Regions from separate parts of the Homo sapiens genome. Here all the other regions are linked to region 1. The links are contacts of gene promoters, found by promoter capture Hi-C in blood cells and fetal thymus (Javierre and others, 2016). All regions are on one chromosome and are shown on one strand. The core of a region is centred on a gene start or on the middle of the fragment in contact, and the rest is flanking DNA. Distances in the headings are between cores, read along the strand shown. Region 1 holds the start of ZNF706 (zinc finger protein 706). Region 2 overlaps AZIN1 (antizyme inhibitor 1). Region 3 holds the start of GASAL1 (growth arrest associated lncRNA 1). Region 4 holds the start of UBR5 (ubiquitin protein ligase E3 component n-recognin 5). Region 5 overlaps POLR2K (RNA polymerase II, I and III subunit K). Region 6 overlaps UBR5-DT (UBR5 divergent transcript).

The links. The method cuts DNA at HindIII sites, captures the fragments that hold promoters and counts their contacts. A CHiCAGO score of 5 or more calls a contact.
Region 2: a contact is called between a fragment that was not itself captured here and the fragment with the promoter of ZNF706 in region 1, in 1 of 17 cell types (total B cells). The highest score is 6.8, in total B cells.
Region 3: a fragment that was not itself captured here is called in contact with the fragment with the promoter of ZNF706 in region 1 in 2 of 17 cell types (fetal thymus and total B cells); the score reaches 6.1 in fetal thymus.
Region 4: the fragment with the promoter of UBR5 here is called in contact with the fragment with the promoter of ZNF706 in region 1 in 1 of 17 cell types (activated CD4 T cells); the score reaches 5.7 in activated CD4 T cells.
Region 5: a fragment that was not itself captured here is called in contact with the fragment with the promoter of ZNF706 in region 1 in 1 of 17 cell types (neutrophils); the score reaches 5.5 in neutrophils.
Region 6: a fragment that was not itself captured here is called in contact with the fragment with the promoter of ZNF706 in region 1 in 1 of 17 cell types (erythroblasts); the score reaches 5.3 in erythroblasts.

Annotation. Positions count from the first base shown.
Region 1 is chr8:101,202,259-101,207,236 of GRCh38, forward strand. ZNF706 (zinc finger protein 706) reads right to left here and starts at 3,415. Exons shown (of 4, transcript NM_016096.5): 1 at 3,177-3,415. RefSeq lists silencers at 2,950-3,549, 3,760-3,979. The HindIII fragment of the contact is 4,829 bases long and covers 1,623-4,978 here.
Region 2 is chr8:102,824,106-102,829,083 of GRCh38, forward strand. AZIN1 (antizyme inhibitor 1) reads right to left here. Exons shown (of 12, transcript NM_148174.4): 12 at 2,203-4,573. The coding sequence ends at 4,462. Among named protein-coding and RNA genes, the nearest start is that of GASAL1, 20 kb to the left of the region's middle. The HindIII fragment of the contact is 4,292 bases long and covers 126-4,417 here.
Region 3 is chr8:102,802,506-102,807,483 of GRCh38, forward strand. GASAL1 (growth arrest associated lncRNA 1) reads left to right here and starts at 4,525. Exons shown (of 2, transcript NR_149020.2): 1 at 4,525-4,978. RefSeq lists a silencer at 3,952-4,751. The HindIII fragment of the contact is 976 bases long and covers 2,365-3,340 here.
Region 4 is chr8:102,409,967-102,414,944 of GRCh38, forward strand. It overlaps UBR5 (ubiquitin protein ligase E3 component n-recognin 5), which reads right to left and starts at 2,734. Exons shown (of 59, transcript NM_015902.6): 1 at 2,207-2,734. The coding sequence starts at 2,268. It overlaps LOC105375683 (a long non-coding RNA gene), which reads left to right and starts at 2,373. Exons shown (of 5, transcript NR_168428.1): 1 at 2,373-3,045. RefSeq lists enhancers at 956-1,015, 1,126-1,904, 1,905-2,683, 3,058-3,327, 3,889-3,998 and 2 more and silencers at 2,098-2,537, 2,598-2,677, 2,708-2,907. The HindIII fragment of the contact is 11,584 bases long and covers 1-4,978 here.
Region 5 is chr8:100,150,926-100,155,903 of GRCh38, forward strand. POLR2K (RNA polymerase II, I and III subunit K) reads left to right here. Exons shown (of 4, transcript NM_005034.4): 2 at 422-491; 3 at 899-991; 4 at 2,369-3,078. The coding sequence starts at 431. The coding sequence ends at 2,391. Among named protein-coding and RNA genes, the nearest start is that of POLR2K, 2.8 kb to the left of the region's middle. RefSeq lists an enhancer at 1-49. The HindIII fragment of the contact is 3,247 bases long and covers 1,219-4,465 here.
Region 6 is chr8:102,243,368-102,248,345 of GRCh38, forward strand. UBR5-DT (UBR5 divergent transcript) reads left to right here. Exons shown (of 3, transcript NR_125415.1): 2 at 638-754. Among named protein-coding and RNA genes, the nearest start is that of UBR5-DT, 6.4 kb to the left of the region's middle. The HindIII fragment of the contact is 2,012 bases long and covers 1,577-3,588 here.

The DNA of each region.
Region 1 (4,978 bases), core at 2,165-4,664:
TGAAACCCTGTCTCTACTAAAAATACAAAAAAAAAAAAAAAAAAAAAAAATTAGGCAGGCATGGTGGTAGGCACCTGTAATTCCAGCTACTTGGGAGGCTGAGGTGGAGAATTGCTTGAATCCGGGAGGCAGAGGTTGCAGTGACGCGTGATGGCACCACTGCACTGCAGCCTGGGCGACAGTGAGACTCTGGTCTCAAAAATAAATAAACAAACACACAAACAAAAAATTGTTACAAGTAACAACTTGGTTGTATCTCAATGTTAAAGGAAAGAAGCCAGTTGTGGGGAATATACATTATTTAAAGTTCAAAACAGGCAAAGCTAATCTATAGTGAAAGGGGTCACCTTGGGGGTTATGGGTAATGACTGGGAAGACAGGACATGAAGGGGACTTATGGGGTCCTGAAAATGTTCTTGAATCAAGTGTGTTTACTTATAAAAATTCATTGAATTGTACACTCAAGATTTATGCACTTTACTGTATGTAATCTTCACAAGTTTACTAAAAAAGTTTAGCCCCCGCTATCATTTACTTGATCACTCTGCAAAAGTAATTTCCCTTCCCAGTATTCATTGTGACTTGCGATTGTGATTTTTATAACTTTAAGAGAAATAAAAGCTGTCTGTTACTCCTTCTAAAGGAGACCTCAGAAATAGGTGGAAACTGTTTTCTTACTTAGTTTTCATAAAACTACTGTTATTAATTTTTTTAAAAAGTTGGTCTTGCTGGATTGCTGAACAAATTATAAAATGAGATTATCAGCAAGCCACTAATTCCAGAAGTTTCTTTGCTCTCTAGACGTTAGTTCCCATTTGAGGGAATGAACTTGGTTAAGAGGGTTCTTTTACAAAGCTGAAAGATACCACTTTTTGTTACCGATGATCTGACGTGAACCCAAATGGATTAAAACAAAAAAAAAAATCAAGTCACTGAAAAAAGTTACTTTTACTTTTCCATTTAAATTAAAGGCTTTTATTCGACCACACAAGTTAAACCTGCTCATAAAGTCTATCATGAGTCTCAATTGCTTTTTAAATATATCAAAATTGGATCCTAAGTAGAATTCATATATATATAGTTTTGACTAGTACTGTAACTGAATGTAAATCATTGCAGGACAGGAACATACAATGGATTTGTATCAACTTCACCAGGGAAGGGTGCTAGCTTCTTCTGACTAGGACCATAATTAGTTAATGGATATGAGGTCAAAGCATTTCATAAAAATTACTGAGCTCCTCCTGTTCCCCAAAAAAGGAAACTAAAAAAATACACTGATTGGAGAAGTTCCCACTAGCATTAAAAAAATGAACTGAAAGTCAGATAAAATATAAAAGAGGGTCAATGCTTTTCAGGATAGTCAGCTGACTATTTCAACTGAGGAAATATGGGGTTTTTATATTAGGGTAGCACACGAGCCTAATACATTTTCGTAATTGAAAATGTTTAGCGTGCTAGCCTAATATGAGAACCCCATTCCCACCAAACAATGGTAAATATTACCAGCTGTTATCAGTCCTTGAAGACTAAGCTTCCATTTTTGCTTTAAAAAAAATTATTAATTCTAAGCCAAATGGCACATTTTTTTTAAAAGTGTATTTAAGTCCGATGTTACCGCAAGCTTACAAACCTATTCCCATGGAAACAGGTTTGGATACTTATGTATTATTTGGACGACAGTAGTCACGTGATCAGCCTTTATGTATACCAATGTTTTGCAAGGTTTTTTGTCTCAATGTCTTACTATCAGGACCTTGTAACAAAATAGCCAGTCTTCTCACACATCTTAACTCTTCGACACAATGTATTTTATGTATCTTAATACACTGATTTTGTGGGAAATCTTGTTTTATGTTAAAAAAAATCTTCAAAAATGGTAAGCCACTAATTTCAGAAGTTCCTTTGCTTTCTAGAAGTTACTAGCTATTTTGATATTTCCATGTTGTGACTCGTACAAAGCAATGTCATTAGACACACAAAATTATTTTTAACTTTTGCACTTAGGACTTTCCCTAAAATATAACATTACACAATAGATTCAACCCATTTTCCATTGTCACCAAACAGCAACCAAAAAGACCGAAGAGACTTAATAAAGACAGTAGTCACTTGTTCTTATTCTGAAGACAGAAAACTTAACACCAGGTAAAGGAAATGGAATAAAATAAGCTAAATGCATGAGGTAGGCCCCTAACTTCTGACAACACGCCCCATCGATTTCCTTTCTGAAAGCAGAAATTCAAACGAACCAACCACCTGCTTTTGGACAGCTCAACTTAGGACTTGCTCTCAAGCCAACACAATTTTCTACAAAATCGTAGGCAGCTACAACCGCTCCTTGATTAAATGCGACAAACTGGAGGGAAAAAGTCACTTACAAATACCTACATGCTGGTTTTTAATGCAACTCTCAGTGTGGTTTTCCGAGGGGGCTGCAAAGAGGGAAGTAGTGGAAGAAACGAGTTCTAAAATGAGGCGCTCTCGTAGGAGGCAACAAGTAAGCTCTGCCCCAAAGCTCCTTTTAAAACCAACATAAATGAGTAACAGAAGAAAAGGATTTTGGGTCCAGGAAGTAGGCTCATTCTCCATAACCATCGGAAAGGAAGAGGCCCAGGCAGCGCTCCACATCCTGACCCTAGCTTTTAACACCATCGTTTTGGGGAGAGGAGAGGAGGAACGCACCCACAGTGAGGTCTCCACCCAACACTTCTCCGACCCCAGCTTCAGCCTGGCGCACCTTCCTTCCCAAACCCGCCTCTCCCGCCTCGGAGACCCCCTCCTCCTCCCTGCCACCAAAGGCCACGCAGCCCCCATCTAGCCAGTCCTCACGGACCCTGGACCAAGACGCGCCTCCTGGAGGCCGAGACTGCCCGAAACCCGGCCCCTGCGTCCACCGGGAGCGCCACACTCTGGCAGCTGACCGGCGGCTGTCGCCGGGGGTAAGGTTACCGCTCCGCTTCCGCGGCTGGCCTGCGACCCGGCCACCTGCAGGGCCTGGCAGGCGCCCGAACTCATCCCCTTCCCGCGGCCCGCCCCGGGCCGGGCCCTGCCGCCCCCCGCGACCCCTCGCGACCCGCGGCGAGTCCCACGGTCCCCACCGCCCCCCGCTGGCCGGCCCCCGCCCCGTTTCCCGGGCGTCCCGCGGCGTCAGCACCGCCCCCGCTGCCGCTCACCCGGGCCGGGACAGTCTTGCGTCGGAGAGACAGTGCAGCGCGAGAGGGCCGGGAGAGGACGCCGGAGGGAAAGGAAGGGGGAGCGCGCCCAGCACCGCTTGGGCCTCCTCCACCCGCTCAGGAGGGGAAACACGAGAGCCGGGAGCACAACAGCCTCGCACGCCCGCCGCCGCCGCGCGCCCGCCGCCGCCTCAGCCTTAGGGGAGACCACTACGCCTCGTGCCCGCGCACGCCGCGCCGCTCTCCTCGGCGCCCCCGCCCCGCCTGCTCCTCGCAGCCCCGCCCATGTGCCTTTCTGCGGCTGCCTCCTTCTGGCCCCCACCCCGCTCGCACGCCTGCGCCCTGGCTGGTCGCGCGGGCCAATGGCAGCGCGCCCCTATTACATAAGCGCGAGGGGGCGGGCCCTGGCTGACACAAACTTCAGGGGACGTCGCCTTCTGTCCCCAGGCGCCCCTCCTCTCCGGCGCGCTCGGTCCGGGCGGCTTCTTCACCCAGCCCTGGGAGCCACGTGATCCCGGTCCTGGTTGGTGACCGGGCCGCGGCGTGTTTCACAAGTCGCTCGCTCGCTCATCCACTCGGGCGGCGGCCGGGCCTCAGGCGCTGCGACCCTTTTCCCGCTCCTCCCAGGCTGACGCGCCCGTCTCGGCGCCGCCCTCCTCGGCACCGACTGAGGCGCTGGCCCGGGAGCGGATCGCGGGGCCGCGGTGGCTGAGTCACATTCCCGGAGCCCCGCCACCCAGGACACCGCGGCCCCGGCCCCCAGCGAGCCCGGCGGACCCAGCGGCTCTGAACGCGGACGCACAGCCTTTGTTCTTTCACAGCCGCCCTTTACCTCACTCCCATGGAAACCCCAGGTGTTTTCCCAAGCTGGGGGCTTTTAGTGAGTTCAAGATTCAAGCCTAAGTCGTATTAAAAATTGCTGGCTAGGCCGGGCGCGGTGGCTCACGCCTGTAATCTCAGCGCTTTGGGAGCCCAAGGCAGGAGGATCACTTGAGCCCAGGAGTTCCAGACCAGCCTGAGTACATAGCGAGACCCACGTCTCCACAAAAATAAAATAAAATAAAATAAATAGTGGAGCATGGTGGCCCGCGCCTGTAGTCCCAGCTACTCGGGAGGCTGAGGTGGGAGAATCGCTTGAGGCCGGGAGGTGAAGGTTGCGGTAAGCCGAGATCGCGCCATTGCACTCCATCCTGGGCGACTGAGTGAGACCCTGCCTAAAAAAAAAAAAAAACAAAAAAAGAAAAAAAAATTGCTGGCCAGGCTTCCCGGAGGGGTTTAGTTTGACTGCTAACAATATACGGTACTGAGTTGCTAATCCTTCGGGGAATGGTTAAAGTTCTTTGCGCGCGCTCTCTCTCCATTTACAGGCAGTGGCAGCAAACTTTCAATATCTGACAAGAGCAATGGCGATTATAACCATGATTAAAATTGCTGAATATCTGGAAACAGTACTTTAGACATCAGCTTTATTGTGCATACTTACCCCCGACCCCCGCCACATTCGTTTCTAATTAGAACTACTAGTGACAAAGGAGAAAAAAAAAAAGTGTTTGCATTGGCTGTTCTCACCTTGCCTGTAGTGCCGTTTCCCAAGTTTGCGTGGCAGTGCCCAGGAAATGTTGGCTGAATATTAGTATATCCCAAATGACTTGGACTGGGCTATAGATACCACAGAATTGTTTAAACTAGCCAGGAAGGAGTTAGCTGCCTATTGCATTTGAGTGGAGAAAAATACGAAATGAAACATGGCATGCAGTGATCCGGGTGTTCAGTTCTCCCTCTTCATCCTCATTTCAGCTTCT
Region 2 (4,978 bases), core at 1,022-3,521, 1.6 Mb after region 1:
AATTGCTTTTAAAGCTGATGACAATTACATACATAGGTAAAGGAGTTCAGGCGTATGAAAGATGTTCTTTTTCTCTCCATTTAGTACCCCAAGACCACAAAAAATGAAGCATGCTGTGTAGATTAAGCTTTCTACAAATTGCCATTAAAAAAAAAAACTTTTTACAGTCTGTTTCCGATAAATAAAACAAAATCTTCAACTGTGTAACACTAAAGTCACATTGCCTTTTGAGTCTAGGTGGTTTGTGTTCCACTCCTTTCTGGGTGAAGACATGCACTATGATTTAGAAGATATGTGTAGTAGAGGCCATCTGTATGCAAAGAGAAAAGTTTCTCCGGATGTCTGAGTAGGAACTGAGACTTTTCAGGTTAGCTTTAACTTAATGCAAATGCCAGTAAAGACCAGAACTAGTTCGTTGCTTGTTCCTAGGCCAGGTTTATCCTCATTATGAAAGCCTGCTGCCGTAATTACTTGCATCACACCTTTTTCCTCTCAGGATGGATGCGATTCATAGGATTTACTCACAACTCAAATGTAGAAGACTAATTTTTGTTTTACATTTTGATTCCTGCCAATTTAAGTTTCTACTATTACTGTGTTTCTTTTCTTTTTTTGAGATGGAGTCTTGCTCTGTCACCCAGGCTGGAGTGCGGTGGTGCAATCTCCACTCACTGCAACTTCTGCCTCTCAGGTTCAAGCAATTCTCCTGCCTCAGCCTCGAGTAGCTGGCACAGGTGTGCGCCACCATGCCTGGCTAATTTTTGTATTTTTAGTAGAGATGGCATTTCACCATGTTGGCCAGGCTGGTCTCAAACTCCTGACTTCAGGTGATCTGCCTGCCTCAGCCTCCTGAATTGTTGGGATTACAGGCGTGAGCCACTGTGCCTGGCCTGTGCTTTAATACTATAAGGTTACATTAAAATTAAATCAACTAAAAGGCAGCAATACAAAACCTTCTCTGATGCCCAACCAAAAGTCCAACTTACAAGGACAAAAGAGAATGGTCAAGTACATGCTAAAGAGATCTTAATACCAAGCTATCAACCACTGGCAGTATCTGCCATTTGCATCCATGTGCCAGGCACTTTCAAGGCCTGGTAAGGTTAAGTTCTAGTGTCTTCATCCTACAGACAAGAAACCAAGGCCCAGAGCAACTTGTCCAAATCAGTATAATCAATCTAATAGGTAATAAGGGTCGTTTATTGAGCCCTGTGTGCCAGCCAGTTCTAAGCACCTTGTAACTGTTACATCCTTATAACCTTATGAAGCTGCTACTTTTACTACCATCATTTTCTTTCTTTTCTTATTAGAGATAGGGTCTTACTTTGTTGCCCAGGCTGGAGTGCAGTGGTGTGATCGCGGCTCACTGCAGCCTCCACCTCTTGGGCCCAAGCAATCCTCCCACCTTGGCCTTTTGAGTAGCTGGGACTACCAGCTAATTTTGAATTTTTTTGGAGAGACACAGGTCTCCCTACATTGCCCAGGCTAGTCTTGAACTCCTGAGCTCAAGCAATCCTCTCACCTCAACCTTCCAAAGTGCTGGCATTTACGAGCATAAACCACTGTGCCTGGCCTTACCACGATTTTCCATCTGGGAAAACCGAAGCACAAAAGGGTTAGGTGACTAGCCTATGTTCATACAGACAGTAAATGGCAGAGGCAGGATTTGAGTCAAGCAGACTGGAGGCAAGGTCTACACCTTTAACCACCACCCTATACTAGTGCATTGCCTGAATAATTAAGTAAATCTTTGAATTTAAAGTTACTCCCCAAAATATTAAGTCACCCAGTTAACTAAAGTGTTCAAAGAACAAAGAGATGATGCTTTTCATTTCAGCAGAGTTCAGAAGACTTCTTAAGGCCAAGACAGGTTAGGAAACTAAAATATATACTCTAAAAAGAAGAAAAAAGGAATTAAGCAATGTGTGGCTTCTCTAACCCAGTATTTCCATTTAATGGTATTAATGCCCATATTTACTTGGAATAAATCTAGCTTAATTTGTCAATCTATTCATTTAGTCCGGGTTTTAAATTGTTAGGAGGCTAGTGAACTGAAGTGTCTAGAAAAGGCTGTCCTGGAAACAGTGCTCACATATATACTGGACTTTACCAAAATTTCACTGTTCTATATATAACTTCCAGCATTTTTTAGCAGAATCAATTTTCTTTCTAATAAAGCAAGATTGTTAATACACATAAAGCTGATATGTAAAATTTTACCTCTATTTCAGATAGAAGCCAAAGTAAAACATGAGGAATAAAAACATTTATCTATGTATTCAGAATCACACACAAGTTACCTTTACAGTTCAATTTACTATATAGAAATCATTGGGTTTTATATTTGCAGTTAACTTTTGAACTGAGATTACAATATTATAACAAAAAACTTTACATTAATTCAGAACTTTTTAGCATACCAAATTGAAATACATAGGTTCAAATTTCAGATTTATGGCAAACAGTCTTCAAATACAATACAGACATTTCTTAAAAGTTACCGTATCATTCACATGTGATATTTGCAACTCTGAGCTATTTCTTATAGAACAGCTCTCCTGCAGATATGGCAAAGTTGATATGCCATGAAGTTCAAGGCCTGTATAGTCAAGCCAAGGACTCAAAGTTGCACCATCTTTAAAAAGGTTTGGCATTTCTGGACCACAACAATGCACAACATGTAAAGAAGGTAGGAAACAGTTCCCCCTCCTTGTTAAATGGTTAAAAAAAGTTACATGGTAGCTTGGAATTTTGCATAAAACCCCATAATATACCTTGGAAAAGTCCAAGGGCAATTTGATGGCAATGGATTGGGGCCCTATATATATATATTTTTAATAGAACCCATGAGATTTAAATGGGCATTAATCAAATCAAAAAATATTAAGCACCTACTGGTTTAAGAGATTTAAATTTATTAGAGATTCATGATCAATTTCTTTCCACCTCGAAATCAAGGTGTAAAAACCAGCTATTAAGTGCATTCCAAACTTCTCCTATGTAGCACAGGTAGAATTTTCTGTCCATTGGCACCAAAGTGAAGTCACATTTCCTCTTGGGAGACAGAAATTCCACACCTGAACACAGAGTAAGTTAGGAAAAAATGACCCCTGTTGTTTATTACTATTGTGATTCTGAGATCTAGGATTTCTAATATACTAGCAGTAAACAAAGCAAATTCCTGGCAACAACTGTCAGGTTAGTGATGCTAACTCCCTTCCCCCAACCACCATAAAATTTTAGTAAGAAAAGAATTAAAAGTAATGACTAAGCAGAACAAATTGGAAATAACAAGAAACTAAGGGGACAGTTCAAACCAACAACAAAAAATCCTAAATTTGAAATCACTGCAACTGAAGATAATAAGTGTGCTTCACCCCAACCCCCATCCCAACTCTGAATTTAAACATTCCGTGCAAAAGAGCAACAGGTTTCTGGATAAAGATGTAGCCCTTCTTTAAGTTTTAGTGCTCTGCAGTTTTCTGCAATTTTATTTCCCTCCCCCCAAGTTTATTCAAAGTATTTAACAGAATCTTCCATTTCAGCCAAAAGATTGTGATTCAAAGATTTACTAAGGTACTCTATGCATTCTATCTATACAGAAACACCTATTTATTATTACAGTTGATTTATGCAGGATTAACATTTTTGGTGTTAAAATTGTTAAACATCATGCTTACTGCACATCAACTCTCCATAATGAATCTGAACTTCACAATGATTTACCAAACACTTTACTTAAATTACTAATTAAATAAATGAAAAATGCACCGAGCCAAACAAAACTTAACTGGGCTATAAAGAAAAAAACCCTTCAAAACAGTCCATATACACATCTATTTCAAAACTACCTTTGCTAGCTAGCCCCTTTCCCAAAGTTTTAGCCTGAAAAAACAGTAAAATCTACACAAAATTTTATTGCAATCATACAAGGGTTACATTAGGTCAACAAATACTATGATGCAATTTTACATTTATTAAACTACAGTTCAAAGCACAAATTTACACATTCTAAATACACTAAACGTTATCTAATGAAGTCACACTGGTCTTCTAACATTTGATATATCTGGGTGAAAGACATGAACTTTACAAGACTTTAAACACAAATCCTTAGTATAAAAACTGTGTTCTTGTATGTAAACGATTTAATGGGGAACCCAATTAATGGGCTTCCATCTCCACTAAGTCATCCATTTTGTTGCATATTTTATTTTAAACGCTTAAGGGGTAGGACAAACTGGTAGGTTTAAATCTGGATACATTATCTAAATCTCCCATTATCCCCAATGAATTATAGATGAAAGCTGATTTTGTCTGGTCCCAAATAGCTATTACTAATAGTTTTTGTTGCCAAAAGAATTAAGAGAATAAGATTGTTTAAATTATTTTTCCACACTGGAATGTTGACCAGACAAGCTTAACCTGCAACTTCAGATCTAAAGAAGCGTTAATGCCTGTTTAAGCTTCAGCGGAAAAGCTGTCTTCTTGGCTCAGCTGAATGCAAGAAGGCACAAAGAAGAAGTTCTTCATCATTGAGTCTGAAGTAATTCCAGCATCTTGCATCTCATACCTACGTAGAAAAAAAATCAGCTAAATTCTCAGTTTAAGCCCAAAGACCACGTAATCACATAACAAATGGATAATAAAACAGGATTATAACTAGTCTTCCAAAAACCTTTAAAAGATCATCATTTTTCTATGATAGTCATGCACTGCAGAGTGATGTTTTGGTCAAAGACTACACATATGACTGTGGTATACCGTAAAATTACAGTGAAGTTTAAAAAGTCCTATCACCTCGTTACATCGCAGCAATCATGTCATAGCACAATGTATTATCCTTTCTATGTTTAAGTAACTTAAGATACACAAACGCCACTGCATTACAACTGCCAACAGTATTAAACAGAGTAACATGCTGTACAGGTTTGTAGCCTAGGATCAATATACCACATGGCCTAGATTATGTAGTAGG
Region 3 (4,978 bases), core at 1,603-4,102, 1.6 Mb after region 1:
ACTCATTTTTTATAAAAGTGCCAAGAACATACATTGGGGGAAAGGACAGTCTCTTCAATAAGCGGTGCTGGGAAACCAATATCCACATGCAGAAGAATGAAACTGACCCCTACCTCACCATATATAAAAATCAAATCAAAATGGATTAAATACTTAAATCTAAGACCTCAAACTATGAAACTACTAAAGGAAAACACTGGGGCAACTCTCCAGGACATTGGTCTGGGCAAAGATTTCCTGAGCAAATACCCCAAAAGCACAGGCAAACAAAGGGAAAATGGATAAAAGAGATCACATCAAGTTAAAAAACCTTCTGCACAGCAAACAAAATAATCAACAAAGTGAAGAGACAACCCACAAAGTGGAAGAAAATATTTGCAAACTACTCATCTGACAAGAAATTAATAATCAAAATATATAAGTAGCTCAAACAACTCAACAGGAAAAAAATCTAATAATCCAAATTTTAAAATGGGGAAAATATCTGAATAGAAGTTTCTGAAGAGAGGACATACAAATGGCAAACAGACATATAAAAAGGTGCTTAACATCATTGATCATCAGAGAAATGCAAATCAAAACTACAATGAGTTGTCATATCTCAATCCAGTTAAAATGGTTTTTTTCAAAAGATGGGCAATAATTAATGCTGGCGAGGATGTGGAAAAAAGGGAACCCTCATACACTTTTGGTAAGAATGTGAACTAATATAGCTGCTATGGAGAACAGTATGGAAGTTCCTCAAAAAACTAAAAATAGAACTATTATATGATCCAGCAATTCTACTACTAGGTATGTCAAAGAGATATCTGTACTCTTATGTTTAAAATTCACAACAGCCAAGATTTGGAAGCAACCTAAGTGTCCACCAATAGATGTATGGATAAAGAAAATGTCGTACATATGGGCCAGGCACGGTGGCTCACATCTGTAATCCCAGCACTTTGGGAGGCCAAGGTGGGTGGATCACGAGGTCAGGAGTTCAAGACCAGCCTGGCCAAGATGGTGAAACCCCAACTCTACTAATAATACAAAAATTACCTGGGTGTGGTGGCACATGCCTGTAATCCCAGCTACTCAGGAGGCTGAGGCAGGAGAATCACTTGAACCCAGGGGCAGAGGTTGCAGTGAGCCAAGATTGCGTCACTGCACTCCAGCCTGGGCAACAGAGCAAGACTCTGTCTCAAAAAAAAAAAAAAAAAAAAAGATTAAAACAATTGAACTCATGGAGACAGAGAGTAGTAGAAGGATGGTTACCAGAATGGTAGGTGGGCCAGGGATGAGGGGGAGTGAGGATGGTTAATGGATATAAAAACGTAGCTACACGGAAGGAATAAAATCGAGTACTTGGTAGCACAACAGGATGACTACAGTCAATAATAATTTATCATACATGTAAAAATAACTAAAAGAAGGCCGGATGTGGTGGCTCACACCTGTAATCCCAGCACTTTGGGAGGCTGAGGCAGGCAGGCAGATCACTTGAGGCTAGGAGTTTGAGATCAGCCTGGCCAACATGTGGAAACCCCGTCTCTACTAAAAATACAAAAAATGAGAGGCCAAGGCGGGCAGATCACGAGGTCAAGAGAACACCCACATTGTGAAACCTGTGTCTACTAAAAATACAAAAAAAATAGCTGGGCGTGATGGTGCGCACCTGTAGCCCCAGCTAGTCCAGAGGCTGAGGCAGGAGAATCACCTGAACCCAGAAGGCAGAGGCTGCAGTGAGACAAGATCATGCCACTGCACTCCAGCCTAGGTGACAGAGTAAGACTCTGTCTCAAACAAAACAAAACAAGCAAACAAACAAAAACTACTAAAAGAGTATGATTGGAATATTTGTAACACAGAACAGATTAAATGCTTGAGGTGATGAATACTCCACTTACCCTGATATGATTATTATGTATTGTATGTTTATACCAAAATAGCTCATGTACCCCATAAACATACACACCTACTATGTACCCATAAATTTAAAAAAATCTAGAAAATGATCAAATCTAAAATCTAAGCTAATTTCTATTTGAACTAAGAAAAATTGTTTTCCTTAAAAAAAAAAAAAAACGCAGATAGGGTCAAAACCCAAGATGAGGCTGTCTTGGAAGCAGAGACAGCACACAGGAAGCCCCATCAGACACAAAGGAAGCCTATGAGACCAAACGTGGGGGCAGAAGACAGAAGAGCCGACAGCTCATTTGTTTCCCTGGGAGTTCCACTAACGAGTGGCAAGGATGGAGTGCTTGCCTCCCAGTGGGCTGCTGGGTGGAGAGGAAAGCCGAATAAAGCAAAGCCTCTCAAAGCAGGCAAAGCATGGTAAAGGCTGTAGTGGAAGTGCCAAGGGTCAAGTTAACTCATGAGAAAAGCTTCATAAAGGTGGCAATCCAGCTGGGCCCAAGCCAAAAGCGTAAGTAATCAGAATTAGAAACGGTGGAGGAGTCAACCCCTACTGAGACAGTTCGGGTTCTCAGCCTGAAGGAAAATGTGGAAGTTGGAGGTTGTGGAGTTTGTGGCTTAAGCCACAGCCCCCTCCTACACCTGGCCTTAGCTCCCAGGATACCTGCCCCCCACTGGGCCAGGCCACGGACTTCCCAAAGGGCAACCACATAAAGCACAGGACCTTCCACCACTCACACTTTCCAGACCTATCCCTGGCCACTATTTCTTCCCTCTGATGTCACAGGGCTCTGCATCTTGTCCCACCTCAGCAAAATTAGACCCCCTGGTTTCCCAAGAGATGTCATTTTTAACTCTTTTCTACAGGCGCCTGGAGCACAGGGCTTCCCAGAAGTCTGATTCAATGCTATTTTGAGCTGGGTTAGATTGGCAGAAATGAACCACCCACCCTTGGAAAAGTCACACTTGGGAAAAGACTGCCCCAGCAGAGGTGGACTGGGAGCTCTTTCTCAGCATGAGTTTGAATGGGGGTCATATGGAGCAAGGAGACGCTCACATAGTTTCTGCAAAGCTGTGCTGACAAATAGCTCTGGACAGATCCAGACCGGTTCTGTTCACCCAGCTGTTATGCCGCTTCTGCCTGCAAGATGAGAAAGACACCTCCCCTTCCCAGGTTGGCATCATTTATTGAACCATGGCTTTGGAAAGAACAACAAGTTCAAATCCCGGAAAGAAGCTGAGCGTGAATTCCAGCCGGAGGCCCACCAATGACAGCCCTGTCTTGCTATCCTGGGGGGCATGGCATGGGTGGGCGGGGTGCGATGGGGTGGAGGGAAGGAAATCCAAGCACCTGTGGATGCTTACTGCCTTACTCTGTCCTCCTGGCTCCACGTCACCCTTCCTTCCTGCCTGACGTGATCAGGGAAATCTGCGGGGTTAAAGAAGCTTCTAGAAGCCACTTAGTCCCCCTGCAGGTAGATGCTTTTTTTAAGGGTCTCTTGCTCACTTTGAGCATTCTAGAACCACAGATGCAGCCTCTCAGAGTGGTTACCCAGCACCAACTCAGGGGCAGACCATAGTGCCCAGCCTTGTTACAGCGAGGAAGGTGACTCTCAATGGACTGGGGCTCTTGAATTCCTTTACCCTCAGACATACATCCTTCCAACCCCATCATCCCACGATGGTGACAGGGTCTGTGGTCAAGGGAGGGGGTCAGGTTAGGTCAGTGCAGTTCTTCAAGTCGGACCCCAAGCAGGCAGCACCAGTCCCCAAGAGTAGGGCTCGGCCAGAGCTGCTCCCATCAAAGGGAACTGGGTGGGGCCCTGTTATCCAGACACAAATATCTGCTGGGCCCCTGGGACCCAGGGTGTCCAAAGGTGGTTCTTTTCCTCCCTCAGAAACTTGGCCCAGGGCCTTTCCCAGCAAGTGCCTCCCCCTCCTCCCGCCCTCGGGTTCCCTTCCCAGCCACCCACTCAGTGAGGGCTTCAGCACGTGGCTGTGTGGGGCGGCGGGTTTCCTCTCCGCCCCGGCAGCTCTGCAGAGGGTGGTTTTCGCCCTCTCTTCTCCCCCATCCCCCGTGACTTCTTGTAAAAGGCTCCGGCGTCCCCACCCACCTCCGCCCTCCCGCGGCTGCCAGACCGGTGCCCGCCCCCGCCTCCCCCGGAGGCCGCGCTCTCTCCCCGCCCCTGGCAGCGGGCTCTGCTTCGGAAACTGTTGACTCAGAGGGTGGCCGGGCGGCCAGCGTCTGATGTCAGCCTGGAGCTGGGCCAGGGAGTGCAGGGCGGGCGGCGCTGGGAGCGAGGGAGGAAGGGTGCGGGGCCGGGCCGGGCTGGGTGGGCGCCCGCGGCAGGCGTAGGGGCTGCGCTCGGCGCTCCCGGCTGCGCGCTCGGCCTCGGCGGCGGCCCGGGCGCCCGTGACTCAGGGTGCGTCACCGGAGCAGATGCCCGGGGCGGTTGGAGGCTCCCGGGCTCCCGCTGACTCATCAGAAAGGCCTGCCGCGCGGCCCGGGGGGCGGGGGAACGTGGGGGACCGCGGGGAGCTGCCGGGCAGGCGGCAGCCGAGGTCGTTTGAGGCGCGCAGAGCCGGAAAACCCCACGGAGACGGCTGGGCGGGGGCGGGGCGATCGGCACTGACCAGGTCACCTGCAGCGCGGGCTGACGGCGGGCGACTGAAGGAGGGAGCAAGTCTCCCACCCCCAGCAGCCGGCGGCCGCTTCCGAAGTCTGCCCCCTTCCACTGCGGAGCGGCGCCCCGCGGGCCCCCAGCCAGCGCGCCCGAGGCGCCCCCGCCCCGTGTCGCTCGCGCTGCGTTATTGGGAGAAGGCGGTTCCTGAGCACCAGCACGGGCCTCGGTGACACCGGAGGTCGCTGGGGTCTTCCCCTTCCCCTTAAGACTCTGGGTCTGTCTGTGGGAAGAGCTTTCATTCCCCACCCCACTCTATGCCGACCCTCTCCGGGGGAGGCTCCACTGGCACTGTAGACACCACGTGCTGGGTAAAAAGGCCTGGTCCCAGCGCTTCCCTGTCACTGACTGCTAACCACAAGGCGCCGTGGCACTCAGGAAATGCGGCAGGGGGGCTGGAG
Region 4 (4,978 bases), core at 1,484-3,983, 1.2 Mb after region 1:
ACCTACGGCACCTTTCTATTTTTCAAATATCTGCCACCTTGATGCACATGTTATGACTCAAGTCTACTTTTTTCCTAATTTCATGAAATTAAAAGTCACTATGATCTAAATATTTTTAATGTTGTATAATGATAGAAGAATCAAACAAAGCTGATTGTTTATACTAGGAATGGAAAAAGAAGAGTTAGCATTTAAAAAGATACATTACTTGTAAATTTCTCAAATAGCTGAAGCAAAAGGAATGCTCAAAAATGAATCAAAGTGCCCAACACAACCGCAAAATAGGTTTTGGCATGCACAGCCAACTGAGTAAGCTAGTCAGGTTTCTTGGTACATAAAGTTAGGACTAATATAGAAAACATGCCCTACCTCTCTTCTCTCTGGTGCGGTTTTCTAAGTAACAAGACAAGCACTACCAACATGGTTCTGTTAATGACCGTAGAGCTATCCTCACTACTAGCCTGTTTCTAAATTTTACCAAAAAATTTTATGTTAATGTCTCCAAAAGATCTTTAATGAAGTAAAGTCAGGCTAAGAACCACATAACAAAATGTTAAATAACTAAAAAGTTATTTCAGAATTTAAAGGAACTATGTGACAACTCTGAGTAGTTAGTATTTTCAGTAAGTATTTCAAAAGATTCCCAAACATGTTAAATACAATATGGCTACAGCAAAGATTAGGCAAATCCGAACCAAGTGCAGAAACTAAACCGCCAGCTCTGGATTTAAAAGCTGTCTGCTCCACTTGAGGCGGTTAGATACACTGACACAAGAGGCCAGTATCTCAGCAGCAAGTTAGGCCTCTTCCTCCCTCTGGGAAGCGCATGACAAACAGGGCATCATGCAACTTAAGTCACCCGGTCACTTAGCAAAAATTCTATGTAACTTCTAAACTTGGGACCAGATGGCCTTCTATACGCAAAAGAAATGTAGAGAGCAGTGAAGTACTGGGAGAGAGGAAGACTTAAAATGCTCCACTTTGTGATCCTGTAAACATTTAGCCCATCATTAGATCTGAGTCTTAGATTCTAAGACATGCTTTAATGGAGGCCTCCCTCAACCTCCTGAGTCTGTTTTCCAACAGTGAAGGAACTTTTCCTGCCTTATCTCAGTTCCCTGAGAGCATGCGGCACTGCAATTCAATATCCTAAACTGGCAAGGAACGGTGGCGGAAGAAAAGGAGAAATCCAAACCAAAACAGCCTATAAAAGACAAAACATAAAATAAAATCATAATTCATCCTCCGCCCATAGCAAACCCAACCCAGAAATTTACAGCGTGTTAAGAAAAGCAGCATTGCGAACTGCAAACGTAAGAGTTTTCCTTTGACACTCTACGCACGGTTTTCAGCTGTCAAATTACAACTCAGGAAAACACTATCATTAGAATAGAAAAGGAAACAAAAAAGCTCGCACCACAGGGGCTAGTAGCAGGAGCTGCCAGCACCATTTCAGGAGGAGAGTAAAGGGAATCCAATGCACTTCCCCACCCCCGCTTGAATCCATCCCCTCCCGGGGCAGGCAAACCTCACTGCAGGGGCTCAAATTTAATAATAATAACAATAATCATGGCGCTTCCTCCCTCACTCCCTCCCCCAACTATCACCTTCCCCCCACCCCCCGCCCGCTCCCAGCAATCTGCCGGGAATCGGCTTCTCTCCCCAACCCGACCCCGGGATCCCCAGGTCCAGACCACCCCACCGGACACAGCTGCCGGGGGCCCGGGACAAGCCCAGCCCAGCCCACCCCGGGGCCCCTGGCCCCGCTTCTCCTCTTCCCTCTCTTTTTACCTCCACCATCCCCCATCCGCATTGTCTGTCTCAATTCAACTTTGACTAATATGGATTCCTCGGGCCTTGGCCGGGCAGTAATTACCGCCTGCCCCCCGGGAGCCAGAAACCACCCCCCCATCTCCGCCGAGTTCAACGCCGCTCCTTGCGGGAGGGGGAAGGGGGTTTACAGAGCGCTCTCCAGTCTACACCGCGAGTCCCGTCTACACCGCGCTCCCCCCGCGGCCCCCTGCCCCCGGGATGAGAAGTTTGCCCCGGAAGGAGCCTAGCAGGAGGCAGTAAGGACCCCCGCACCCCACCCCAGCTGGCCGGCCGGCGCGTAAACACCCGCACCCGCCCGGCACGGCCCGTGGGGGAGGGGAGGGAGGGAAGGGCGCCCCTCCCCCCGCGCCCGCCGACCCGCCAGCCCTATTACCTGTCATTGAGCTGGTCCTCGGTGCCCGGCAGCGGGTGAACCACGAAATGGATGGACGTCATGGTGCTTTCCTTCTCGTCCTCCACTCGAGGGCGGCCCCCTCCCGCTCTCGCCCGCCCCCCAGCCCTCTACCCCTCCCCAAAACCCACAGCCGCCGCCGCCTCCCAGTCCCCAAATGGAGGGAAGCAAATACGCAGGGGCCGCCGCCGCCTCCCTGCCGGGCGTGTGTCCGCGGCCCGGAGGGGCGGGCAGGAGGGCGAATCCACACGCCACCCGCTCCCCCGGCGACAGCGCGGAGTGCGAGGCAGGCGGCCGGGACCAGGGGCGCGCCGCCGGCCAGCGGCAGACGGGCGTTGGGAGAGGGGCGGCCGGGGGAGGAGAGGGGCGGCTGCTGGCTGCGGGCTACGGGGACGGTCTGGTCCCGGCGGCGGACGGGGTCCGGACTAGGGGAGGTGAGGAAGGAGGGGAAGGAGATGAGCCCGCACCGCGCGTCACTAGCGAGAAGCTGCCGCCGCCATCTTCACTTCTGCCCCAGTTTCTCCGTCTCGCAGGCTCCGCTCCGGAGCGGCGGGGGAGGGGCAAACGGGAGGAGGAGGAGGGAGGAGACCGGCGGGCGGGGGCGCGGCGGCGAGAGGCGGGGCTCCGGGAAACGGGCGGCAAGGCCCCCTCGATTGGGCTGCTCAACGTTGTCGGGCCACGACGCTGTAAGGCGCGTGCCGATTGGTCCGTTCGGCTCCCGAGCCCAGCCCCGCCGGGGGTGGGATGTCTCCAGAGTGAGTGTTCCGGAGAGCACGTGTTAGGGAAGGAGGAGGCTGCGGGCTAACCTGCCGGGAGGGAGGGTAAGTGTGTGTCCCAGAGGAGGCGAGGAGGAAGAGGGGCTCTTGTGTTCTTTCGCTCGGATTCCCCTGGGGCAGCCCTAATTATTTGGCGGATCCTTAGGGGTTTCTTGTTGCTTCTCATCCTTCATCCGCAGTTGTATTTATGGTGAAGTTGGTAAAATCAGTTAAGGGGCAAGACATATACAGCCTTTTATTGGAAAAGTAAGGAAATTATGTAAGGGCCTTTCCAGAAGGAGATAGTAGGATCCTGGAGTTGGCTTTGCAGCAACTTCTATTACCTCGGTCTCCCCAGTTTCCTCACCACCATCACATGCCCAAAGACAAAATGTGGAAATTTCCACTAATTTCCTGATATAAATGATTCGTGATTTTTTATTACTTTTAAATGAAAGATGATAAACCTGTTCTACAAAGGAGTTCAATTTATGATCAGTGGAATCAGAACGGAAAATTATTATTTTTTTTTTTTTTTTCCCCGAGACGGAGTTTCGCTCTTGTTGCCCAGGCTGGAGTGCAATGGCGCGGTCTCGGCTCACCTCAACCTCCGCCTCCCGGGTTCAAGCGATTTTCCTGTCTCAGTCTATGGAGTAGCTGGGATTACAGGCATGTGTCACCACGTCCGGCTAATTTTGTATTTCTTTTTTAGTAGAGATGTGGTTTCACCATGTTGGCCAGGCTGGTCTCGAACTCCTGACCTCAGGTGATCCACCCGCCTCGGCCTCCCAAAGTGCTGGGATTACAGGCCTGAGCCACCACGCCTGGCCGAGATAGGATCTTTTATACCGAGTTTCTACTATAAGACACTTTCAGAGTTTTGGCCACGGCGCACAGTGGCTCACGCCTGTAATCCCAGCACTTTGGAAGGCCGAGGATGTCGGATCACCTGAGGTTGGGAGTTCGAGACCAGCCTAGCCAACTTGGTGAAACCCCATCTCTACTAAAAATGCAAAAATTAGCCAGGCATGGCTGTGCGCGCCTGTAAACCCCACTACTCAGGAAGCTGAGGCAGAAGACTTGCTTGAACCTGGCAAGTTGCAGTGAGCTGAGATCATGCCACTGCACTCCAGCCCGGGCAACAGAACGAGACTCCATCTCAAAAAAAAATTTTTTTTAATCAAATAAGTCTGTTTTTTTTTCCCTAAGGAACCAATTCATGACTTTCTTCTCAAAGGTTTCTATGACCTCCTTTAAAAAATAAAGTACCTCTTCGAAGGCAAAAACTGAGAACATGACATTCCTTCTACAGAGGTGGTCTGTTAATGAATTACACACACACACACACAGTTTTGCTTAGGAAGTTCTTCTGAGCAAAATTTATGAAAAAATACTTACAAATCAGGACAGACCTGGTACCCTCAAGGCAGATAATGGAACACTTTTGTAGGTTACCAGCTCAACCATTGGCCCAGATTAGTTTAGACTAAAAAGTGATTTCAAGGTCACTATTAGATGTCCCTGGGAGCCCTGAGGAAGGAAGGTAGACCAGTAGACACTGCTAGATTTCAAGCCAAACAGATCTAAAAAAAATTTTTTTTTTTTGAGACGGAGTCTTTGCTCTGTCGCCCAGGCTGGAGTGCAATGGCACGATCTTGGCTCACTGCCACCTCCGCCTCCTGGGTTCAAGTGATTCTCCTGCCTCAGCCTCCCGAGTAGCTGGGATTACAGGCGCTGCCACCATGCCTGGGTAATTTTTGTATTTTTAGTAGAGACAAGGTTTCACCATGTTGGCCAGGTTGGTCTCGAACTCCTGACCTCAGGTGATCCACCCACCTCGGCCTCCCAAAGTGTTGGGATTACAGGCGTGAGCCACTGCGCCCAGCCCAGATCTAAATTTCAGTTGTTTCTGCTACTTAACTACGTGGCCTTACTTGGATTTAGATTAGTTAGATTTGGCCGGGTGCACTGGCTCACGCCCATAATCCCAGCACTTTGG
Region 5 (4,978 bases), core at 1,592-4,091, 1.1 Mb before region 1:
GGATATAATTTTTTTTGGCTAACTTCTGCTAGAGTTTGGGAAAATAGAACTTGTGTTAAACGAGAACGCGAGCTTTACAGTCAGATCTGTATCCCTTTGACTTTTAGTAGCTGAGTGATCCTGCGGAAATTAACATGTCTAAGTATCGGTTGCGTCCTCTGTAAAACAAGAGTGATGTCTCCTAGGATTGTTATGAAGATTATAATGGCCTAACACGTATGAAGTAGTTATTATGTCCAGTTTGGGGTAAACGCTCAATACTTGTGTGTATGCGTTTCGTCCTTGAGACCTAACCCATAGGATTTGGGGAAAGGAACAGATTAGGAATTGGATCTTTGTAGCTTTTCCTGAGAAAAATGGGCCCGGATGGACTTGTGAGAAGCCCTTTTGAGATATTCAGTATTTGAGTCTGTGATTTCAGGGGCTAACAATGGACACCCAGAAGGACGTTCAACCTCCAAAGCAGCAACCAATGATATATATCTGTGGAGGTAAGAGTAGCACTTACCTAAAGTAAGAATATTTTATTTAAGTTTTTTTGAAATTGTTACATTTATTCTTTGCTTAAATGAGTTACTGGTCTTCAGAGTTATAAAGTAGAACACTTTAGCAACCATAAAAAAAATCGTTGAGGTCAGTAGACCTGGGTTCGTCCTTGGTCTTCTGTTTACTAACAGAAAAAAACAAAGCTCGTTGAGATTTCATTCTCTCTCCTGGAAATATGCATGGCCTACAACCTTTTTCTTTCCTATTTAATATATTTAATAAAAGCAGCAGACCCTTGAGATTGAGTATATTTTAGTGTTTTGGATTGCCTTAGGTAAATAATACATTTAAGATAATTTGTCTGTAATATTTTCCTCTTAGGCATTGAGTAAATTTTTTTTTTTAATTCTAGAGTGTCACACAGAAAATGAAATAAAATCTAGGGATCCAATCAGATGCAGAGAATGTGGATACAGAATAATGTACAAGAAAAGGACTAAAAGATGTATCCTTTTAACGATGCTTTCTAAATATGAGTTAGGAGGAAATGAATAATGCTGGGGTTGATAAAGATTAATTTCTGGTTAAAATGATAACTTTCTGGATTACAGTACTTAAAAAACAAACATGATTAGCATTTTCATGGACCAATGCATAGGCTCTAAATAATCTAAATAATGCTAGTTGATTTTGGTTCTCATAAATTTATTTTTTAGGGATTCTGTGCAGTCAAGCTTGAGGATAGGGATACATTCTGAGAATTGTGTCCTTAAGCAATTTCATCATTCCTACAGAAACCTAGACCGTATATCCTACTATACATACACATCTAGGCTATATGGTATAGCTTATTGCTGCTAGGCTACACACCTGTACAGCATGCTATTGTACTGAATAGACAATTGTAACACAATGTTTTTGTATATCTGAACATAGAAAAGGTACAGCAAAAATAGAGTATAATCTTATGCGACCACTGTTTATATGTGCTCCATCTTTGACCAAAACGTCATTATGGGTGCATGACTACATTTATATAAGTATTCATTCTTGAGCTTCAGTTTATGGACAAGCTAAAGTTCACGAGGAGAAATACAAATATTGTGTATACTACCTAATGGAAAAAGTTGGGCATACAAATTGTTCAAATACTGAGAGTAGGCCCAGCATGGTTGCTCACACCTATAATCCCAGCACTTTGGGAGGCTGCAGGAGTTCAAGACCAGCCTGGGCAACATAGTGTGACCCCCATGTGGAAAAATAAAATACAGAGTAAATTGTTATGATACAACTAACACACATTGTAAATCGACGGATTATCCGCTTTAACATTACTTTAGTGTTTTTTTTTGTTTGTTTTTTGTTTTTTTTTGAGACGGAGTCTCGCTCTGTCACCCAGGCTGGTGTGCAGTGACGCAATCTCGGCTCACATTGCAAGCTCTGCCTTCCGGGTTCATGGCATTCTCCTGCCTCAGCCTCCTGAGTAGCTGGGACTACAGGCACCCGCCACCATGCCCGGCTAATTTTTTTTATTTTTTAGTAAAGATGGGGTTTCACCATGTTAGCCAGGATGGTCTCGATCTCCTGACCTCGTGATCCGCCCACCTCAGCCTCCCAAAGTACTGGGATTACAGGCGTGAGCCACTGCGCCTGGCCTGCTTTAGTGTTTTTTGATACATTTTATGGAAAAGGTGGTAATAAAAATTGAAAGTGTTTTTAGTTTATTTAAAAACCAGTTGTCATAGTAAATAGTGAATTCCATTCTTTTTTGCATTTTAAGTTAAATAACAAACCAGCTTATTGCAAAGAGAAAGTGACTTTGAAACCTTCAGTCTTAATAATGTTTAAGTACCGTTTTTGTCCTTAACTCAAATTAATACAGTGGTCGTTTTTGATGCTCGATGAATGCTGGGAATTCAGAGGAATGTCTTCACTTATACTTGGATTTGCTCTCTTCCCATTTCTGATTGTTGTATAGCTTTCGATTTTGCTTACAGTAGTTCCCCCTTATCTTCGGGAGATACATTCCAAGGCCCCCAGTGAACTCCTGAAACCTCAAACAGTACCAAACCTTTATACACTGTTTTTTCCATATATATATACCTATGATAAAGTATAATGTATAAATTAAGCATAGCAAGAGATTAATAATAATGTAATAGAACAATGATAACATACTATAATAAAAGTTATGTGAATGTGGTTGGTCTCTCTTGCTTTCAAAATATCTTCTTGTACAGTACTCACCTATTTTAGAATGTGGTTGACTACAGGTAACCAAAACCACAGAAAGGGAAACTTTGGATGAGGGGGGCACTACTGTACTTAGGAATACAACTATATACATATGATTTTATTTTTAAGACCATATTATATTTGGGTATCTACTAATATTTTGTATAAAGCAATTTTTTGTTCCATTACGTGACTTTTTGTTTTATTGTATATGTAATTTAACACACAATAAAGGGTAAAGTTGCTTCCCCAAACCACACTTTTAATCAAAACCTAGAATCATCTGCAGTCCTTGTTAAAAATGCAGGTTTCTAGAACCCTCTGAAGTTCTGATTAAATAAATTTATTGCAAACCACTGTCCTGTGTCACTGTGTCATTTGATATGAAGTATACCATTGTGCTTGGTGTCAGTATGCATATGTCATCTTGAGTTCAGTTTTTCATTTATTACTAGGTATAGGCCTTTCTGTATTTTCATATAATGCTTGGTTCTCTTTTAAATCTCAGAATAATGAAGGGAAACTTTAATTGTTTTCTGTAAGGCAAAATCAACCCCAAGCAAAGTGAATGAAGCAGGCTGTTAAGCCAAGTGCAGTTTCCAAGGTGTAATCACTCATTAAGGTCAACAGTTCTGCTTTTAGGATATAAAAAGAACAGGCAGTGACTCGGGAGGCTGAGATGGGAGGATCACTTGAACCCAAGAGTTTGAGGCTGCAGTGAGCCATAATCATGCTGCTGCACTCCAGCCTGATGGACAGTGCAACACCCTGAGTCAAGGGCTGGGGAGGGGAGCGTTGGTTTACACTGAATTATTGGATAAATGTTTAAGTCTTCAGCCTTGATCTTTGGGATGTAGAATTAATGGTCACACTTATACGCTATTCTGTTCAAGGATTCCATGGTTGTGGAATGTCATGTTGGCCAGCCTGATGTGCATTTTAAAGATTAGATGTATTCCAACTTTATTAATAGTTATGTCTGTCTTTGACATTCAAAATATTGTCCATAATACTTTGTTAAAAAAAACCCTGCATTTTTACCACCATCTTCATATATTAAATTCTATAAATTTATTACATGCTATATGAAATACTTCCATGCTCAGATTTTTGTTTTGTTTTGTTTTTTTAAGACCGGGTCTCCCTCTGTTGTCCAGACTGGAGTGCAGTGGCATGATCATAGCTCACTACAGCCTCCATCTCCCAGGCTTACACAATCTTCTCACCTCAGCTTCCTGAATAGCTGGGACTGCAAGCACACACCACCATGCTGGCTGATTATTTTGATTTTTAGTAGAGATGAAGTCTCACTACATTGCCCAGGCTGGCAATGAAATTGAGCTTTCATAATTTTATAATTTTAGTATATTCCTTCTTGAACTTTTTAGATATGGGAGTCTCAATACATGGTATTTCTTTATGACAGTTCCCTAAACAGATAAATCCCCAACTTATGGGATAATATACTTCTCTTAACTCTTCTCATTTTAGACTAAGTCCTTTGCATATCAGTAGTTTAATTGAATATTGTTATCTGGTTAACTGGGCAGAATAACTTCATGCAAAATGTATTACAGCTGGAACTCAGACTGCTTTCAGTCAGCCACTTTTTGTGCTCCCTTCATGTATAAACTAGATGTAATTTTACCTCTTACCTACCTAGACAGTTTCAAGGAAAAAACTGATATAAAATTGCTTTTAAAACATTCTTTTGACTAGTGCTCTGTCAATATGAAAATTAGTAAGCTTGAGCTTGATGTTAGCACATCACTTGGTACCCTGTAAACTGCTTACTGACTGCACACACTGAAAAGCACATCCTTGTCCATGGGAAAAGCACTGAATGGAGATTTGTTCAAATTCAGCCCTGCCCCTCAATGACTGGCCAATTCACTTTATTTCTTTTAACTTCAGCTTCTTTATCAAAGTGGAGGAATTATGATTATAAGTAATCACAGGGATTATAGAGATAACAGTGCTTTAAGATAGCTATCTTAAGAGATTGGAGTTATGAAAAATTCAAAAATGAAATCAGAAATGAAGCCAGGAGTGGCGGTTCACACCTGTAATCCCGGCACTTTGGGAGGCCAAGGCGGGAGGATCGCTTGAGCTCAGGAGTTCAAGACCAATTTGGCCAACATGGTGAAACCCTGTCTCTACTAAAAATACAGAAATTACCTGGGTGTGGTGGTACATGCCTGTAATCCCAGCTAGTCGGGAGGCTGAGGCATGAAAATTGCTTGAACCCAGGAAGTGG
Region 6 (4,978 bases), core at 1,333-3,832, 1.0 Mb after region 1:
GTGAGCTGAGATTGTGCCACTGCCCTCCAGCCTGGGCAACAAGAGCGAAACTCCGTCTCAAAAAAAAAAATTTACTTGGTCCTTCTAGCCCTTTTAATCTAAAAGTGGAACTCTCATGTGTTCCATTATTTTTGTGTATGTTCAATACATATATGTTCCATTCATCCTATTTTTAACATGCCTCACAGTGTAATTATTTATTATTTATACTTAATACATCTTACAAATTTCATTATGTCTAACAAGCCATTTGCTCCCATACTTAGTTTCTCTCAATTTCTGTGGCAGAATTGAATATTCTTAAATGACACAGCAAAAACATCACAGTACTCAGAATAGTGTAGGCAGTGTGAGTTTCCCCCAGGATGTTCAAAGTTATTGGAAGAGCAAATGGAAAAAAATAACACGCGTAACTGAAAGATCTCAAGGAGTAAGAGGATTCTGCATCTTCATATGGACTTTATGGCATATTGTATTTTCCAAAAATGGCCACAACAATATTTCTGGTACCATATGCTGTTCCAGAACTTGGATACACCTCCCCTTAAAAGGTGGTGTCTAATGCACTTCCCTTTGCATATAGGCCATCAATATTAACTTTTGTTTGTTTGTTTGTTTGTTTGTTTGTTTGAGACAGAGTCTCGCTCGGGCACCAGGCTGGAGTGCAGTGGCACGGTCTCGGCTTACTACAACCTCCGCCTTCCGGATTCAAGTGATTCTGCTGCCTCAGCCTCCCGAATAGCTGGGATTACAGGCGAGTACCACCACATCCAGCTAATTTTTTTAATTTTTAGTAGAGACGGGGTTTCACCGTGTTAGCAAGGATCATCTTGATCTCTTGACCTCGTGATTCACCTGCCTCGGCCTCCCAAAGTGCTGACATTACAGGCGTGAGCCACGGCACCCGGCTATTAATACTAACTTCTAACAAATAGGATACAGTCAAGTGCCATGTAACATTTTGGTCAATGATAGACCCCATATATGGTGGTGGTCCTATAAGATTATAATGGAGCTGAAAAGTTCCTATCATAGTGACGTTATAGTCATAGCACAACACATTACTCATGTGTTTGTGTTGATGCTACTGTAAACAAATCTGCCAGTGTGTAAAGTATAGCTTATATAATTATGTACACTACATAATACTTGATAGTGATAATCTATATTACTGATTTATGTATTTACTATAGTTATCATTATTTTAGTGTATACTCCTTCTAATTATATATATAAAAAAATCAGTAACTGTAAAATAGCTTCAGGCAGGTCCTTCAGGAGGTATTCCAGAAGAAGGTATGGCTATCATAGGAAATGACAGCTTCATGTATTTATTGCCCCTGGAGACCTTCCAGTGGGACAAGATGTGGAGGTGGAAAACAGTAATATTGATGATCCTGACCCTGTGTAGGCACAGACTAATGCATGTGTGTGTCTTAGTTTTTAACAAAAAAAGTTCAAAAAGTAAATTATTTTAAAAAATAGGAAAGAGTTTATAGAATAAGAATATAAAGAAAGAAAATTTTGTGCAGCTATGCACTGTTTTAAGCTAAGTGTTATTACAAAAGAGTCAAAAAGCTTTAAAAATTTAAAACGTTTTTGAAATACAGTTACAGTAAGGTAAGGCTAATTTATTGAAGAAAGAAAAATATTTTTCATAAGTTTCTTGTAGCCTAAGTATGCAGTATTTATGGCATCTACAGTAGTGTGTAGTAATACTCTAAACCTTCACATTCACTCACTGACTGACTCACTTAAAGCAACTTCCAGTCCTGCAATCTCCATTCATGGTAACTGCCCTATACAAGTGTGCCTTTTTAAAAAAACCTTTTATATCATATTTTTACTGTACCTTTTCTATGTTTAGATACACAAATACAATTGTGTTTCAGTTGCCTACAATATTCAGTACAGTAACATGCTGTACAAGTTTGTAGCTTAGGAGCAATACCACATACAGCCTAGGTGTATAGTAGGCATTACCATCTAGGTTTGTGTAAATACACTCTATGATGTTTGCACAACAATGAAATAATCTAATGACACATTTCTCAGAACATATTCCTGTTGTTAAGTGATGCATGACTTTTAAGCCTCATTCATTAAGGACACTACAGATAGCTTTGGTGTTGTCTCTCTTTTGGGCACTTTCCTTGGGAGCTTAGGTACCATGCTAAAGGAAGCCAAAAACTAGCTCACACAGAGAGACTACATGGGAAGTCCACATGGAAAGCAACTGAAGCACCAGCCAACAGCTAGCATCAACCTCCAGATGTGTGAATGAATGAGCCTTCAGAGGAATCCAACTCCTAGCTGTCATGCCTTCCAGTTGAAAACCCCAGAAATTATGGAGCAGGAAAAACACCATCTTGGGTTCTGTGCAAATTCCTAACCCACAGAATCCACGAGCCTAACAAATGGTTGTTTTAAGCCACCAATTTTGGGATAATTTGTTATGCAGCCATAGTAACTGGTCCAGCATCCATTCCACTTAGAGATTTGTGTGGTGATCGCCTAGGAAGACAAGCTAGCCTTTTGTATAGAAAATATGTAATTTCAAGCTATTGCTGTCTTATTGTATGTCATTTACTGGGTAAATCCTCATTTCTCAAACTTGATGTCTCAACACCCCTGCCCTTTTTTTTTTTTTTTTTTGAGACAGAGTCTTGACTCTGTCGCCCAGGCTGGAGTGCAGTGACATGATCTCGGCTCACTGCTGTCTCTGCATCCCAGGTACAAGGGGTTCTCCTGCCTCAGCCTCCTGAGTAGCTGAGCCTACAGGCACACACCACCATGTCCAGCTAATTTTTGTATTTTTGTAGAGATGGAGTTTCACCATGTTGGCCATGCTGGTCTCAAATTCTTGACCTCAAGTGATCCGCCTGCCCTGGCCTCCCAAAGTGCTGGGATTACAGGTGTGAGCCACCGTGCCTGGCCTCAACCCCTTTTAAATAAAAAAATTTTCACAGCCACTTTGATATTGACTTAAACTACATATGTATTGTTACTTAAGTATGTACAAACCTAAGACCAGTAATAAACTCCTTATTCTTGGAGCTTTACACAACTAAAAGTAGATCTATAAATTAAATACAAACAAGACTATAGAAATGGTAAAATTCCAGTTTACAACCAAAAGCAATGGATGATGATGTTGCTTTGCTGAAACTATATTGCATCAGTGTGAATTTTATAGTGACCATTAATGAAGCATGTTTTTTTGCATCGTAGCCATGGGATAACTTTTTCTACAACTCTTTTTATCAGTTGCCTTTCATAAGGAACAAATGTGTCATTTACATATTTAATTCCATTCTTTAAGTTTTTATGTATTATTTGACATCAGTGCCATCATAAATGGTCAACCAGGTAATTCAAGATACTGCATATATATATTAAGAATCAAAATAAGATGCTTGTGGAAAATTGGCAGATCCTGAACCCTAGTTTGAAAATCACTAAACAGGTCTATATTTAATGAGCCATTCATTTATAATTCAGGAAGGCCTCCAGTGTGAAGGAAGGTGAAAATTTTGGAATTAGATTGGTTTAGAGCTAGTTGGAATAGGCCCAGTACAGGATAAAGCAAGCTTGAAATAAGGCAGTGGTGGTGGGGAATGCAAGAAGAATCCGTGCATGTGAGTTAAGTAAATGTACTCAAGATGACTTGATCAGTGGTTGGATATGGAGTGTAGGGTAGAGGGAGGATTCTAGGATGACTACAAGTTTTTTTTTTTTGTTTGTTTGTTTTTTTTGAGATAGAGTTTCGTTCTTGTTGCCCAGGCTGGAGTATAATGGCACGATCTCGGCTCACTGCAACCTCCGCCTCCTGAGTTCAAGCGATTGTCCTGCCTCAGCCTCTCAAGTAGCTGGGATTACAGGCATGCGCCACCATGCCTGGCTAATTTTTGTATTTTTAGTAGAGACTAGTTTCTCCATGTTGGTCATGCTGGTCTCGAATTCTCAGCCTCAGGTGATCTGCCTGCCTCAGCCTCCCAAAGTGGTGGGATTACAGGCGTGAGCCACTGCGCCCAGCAATGACTACAAGTTTCTAATCCAGAGACTAGGCAGTTAGCAGTGCCTTTTGCCCATGAAGTCTTAGTAGGAAAATAGTGAGTTGTTTTGGACATGTCAAGATCATGATTCTCATGAGATCCAACTGGGGGTTTCTAGTAATGTGGTTCAGAACTGATTGGCTCAGCCATTGATCTGATCCAGCTGTGACAACCTGAAAGCCATACTTAGCAACCCGTCACATTAATAGTAAGTAAAGCAGTTTTTGCAAAAGAATCAACAAGCAATATAGATTTTTTCTAAAAAATTTCGAGTTCAGTACAAAGAACATTTTCCCTCTTAACTGTTTCAGAATAAGTTGCTATGTCTAGGCTAAATGCAGAAGAAAAGAAGTGAGACAACTTTCTTTTACTCGTAAGTGTGAGAGCATTGGAAGGACAGGAGTTTTGGGTCATAGAGTTGGATAATAAGACAACATTTCAAAGGTGCAGAGTTCCAGGTGAGATAAAAACAACAGATTACAATAGTATGTTCCTAAATTGGATTGAAGTTGGTCATTTGAATCCATTCAATAAATTTAACATTCTACCAGGCACTGGAGAGAAAAAGGTAATTGAGACAGAGTTCCTACACTAAAGGAACTTACAGAGTAGAAGGGAAAATCAAGCAGATACATTGTTCAGACGGAGTACAAAGAAAGTAAAACAGCTTTGTCAAGGTGGAGGGTGGAGGGCAGGTCAAGGAGAGCACCTCAAAGAGGTGGGTAAACCGGATTCTGAATTATGAATAGGAACTAACCATTCCAAGATGAGGGGCCATAAAGAGTGGGCAGTAAGGTCAGAGGGAGCAAGTATTTATACAGGCTCCAAGGCGATAGAGGTCATAACCCACCAGGGGACTGCAAGTCTTTCAGTATAACAAGATAGTAAGTAAATATAAGGCTGTAAAGCAAGATCCAATCATG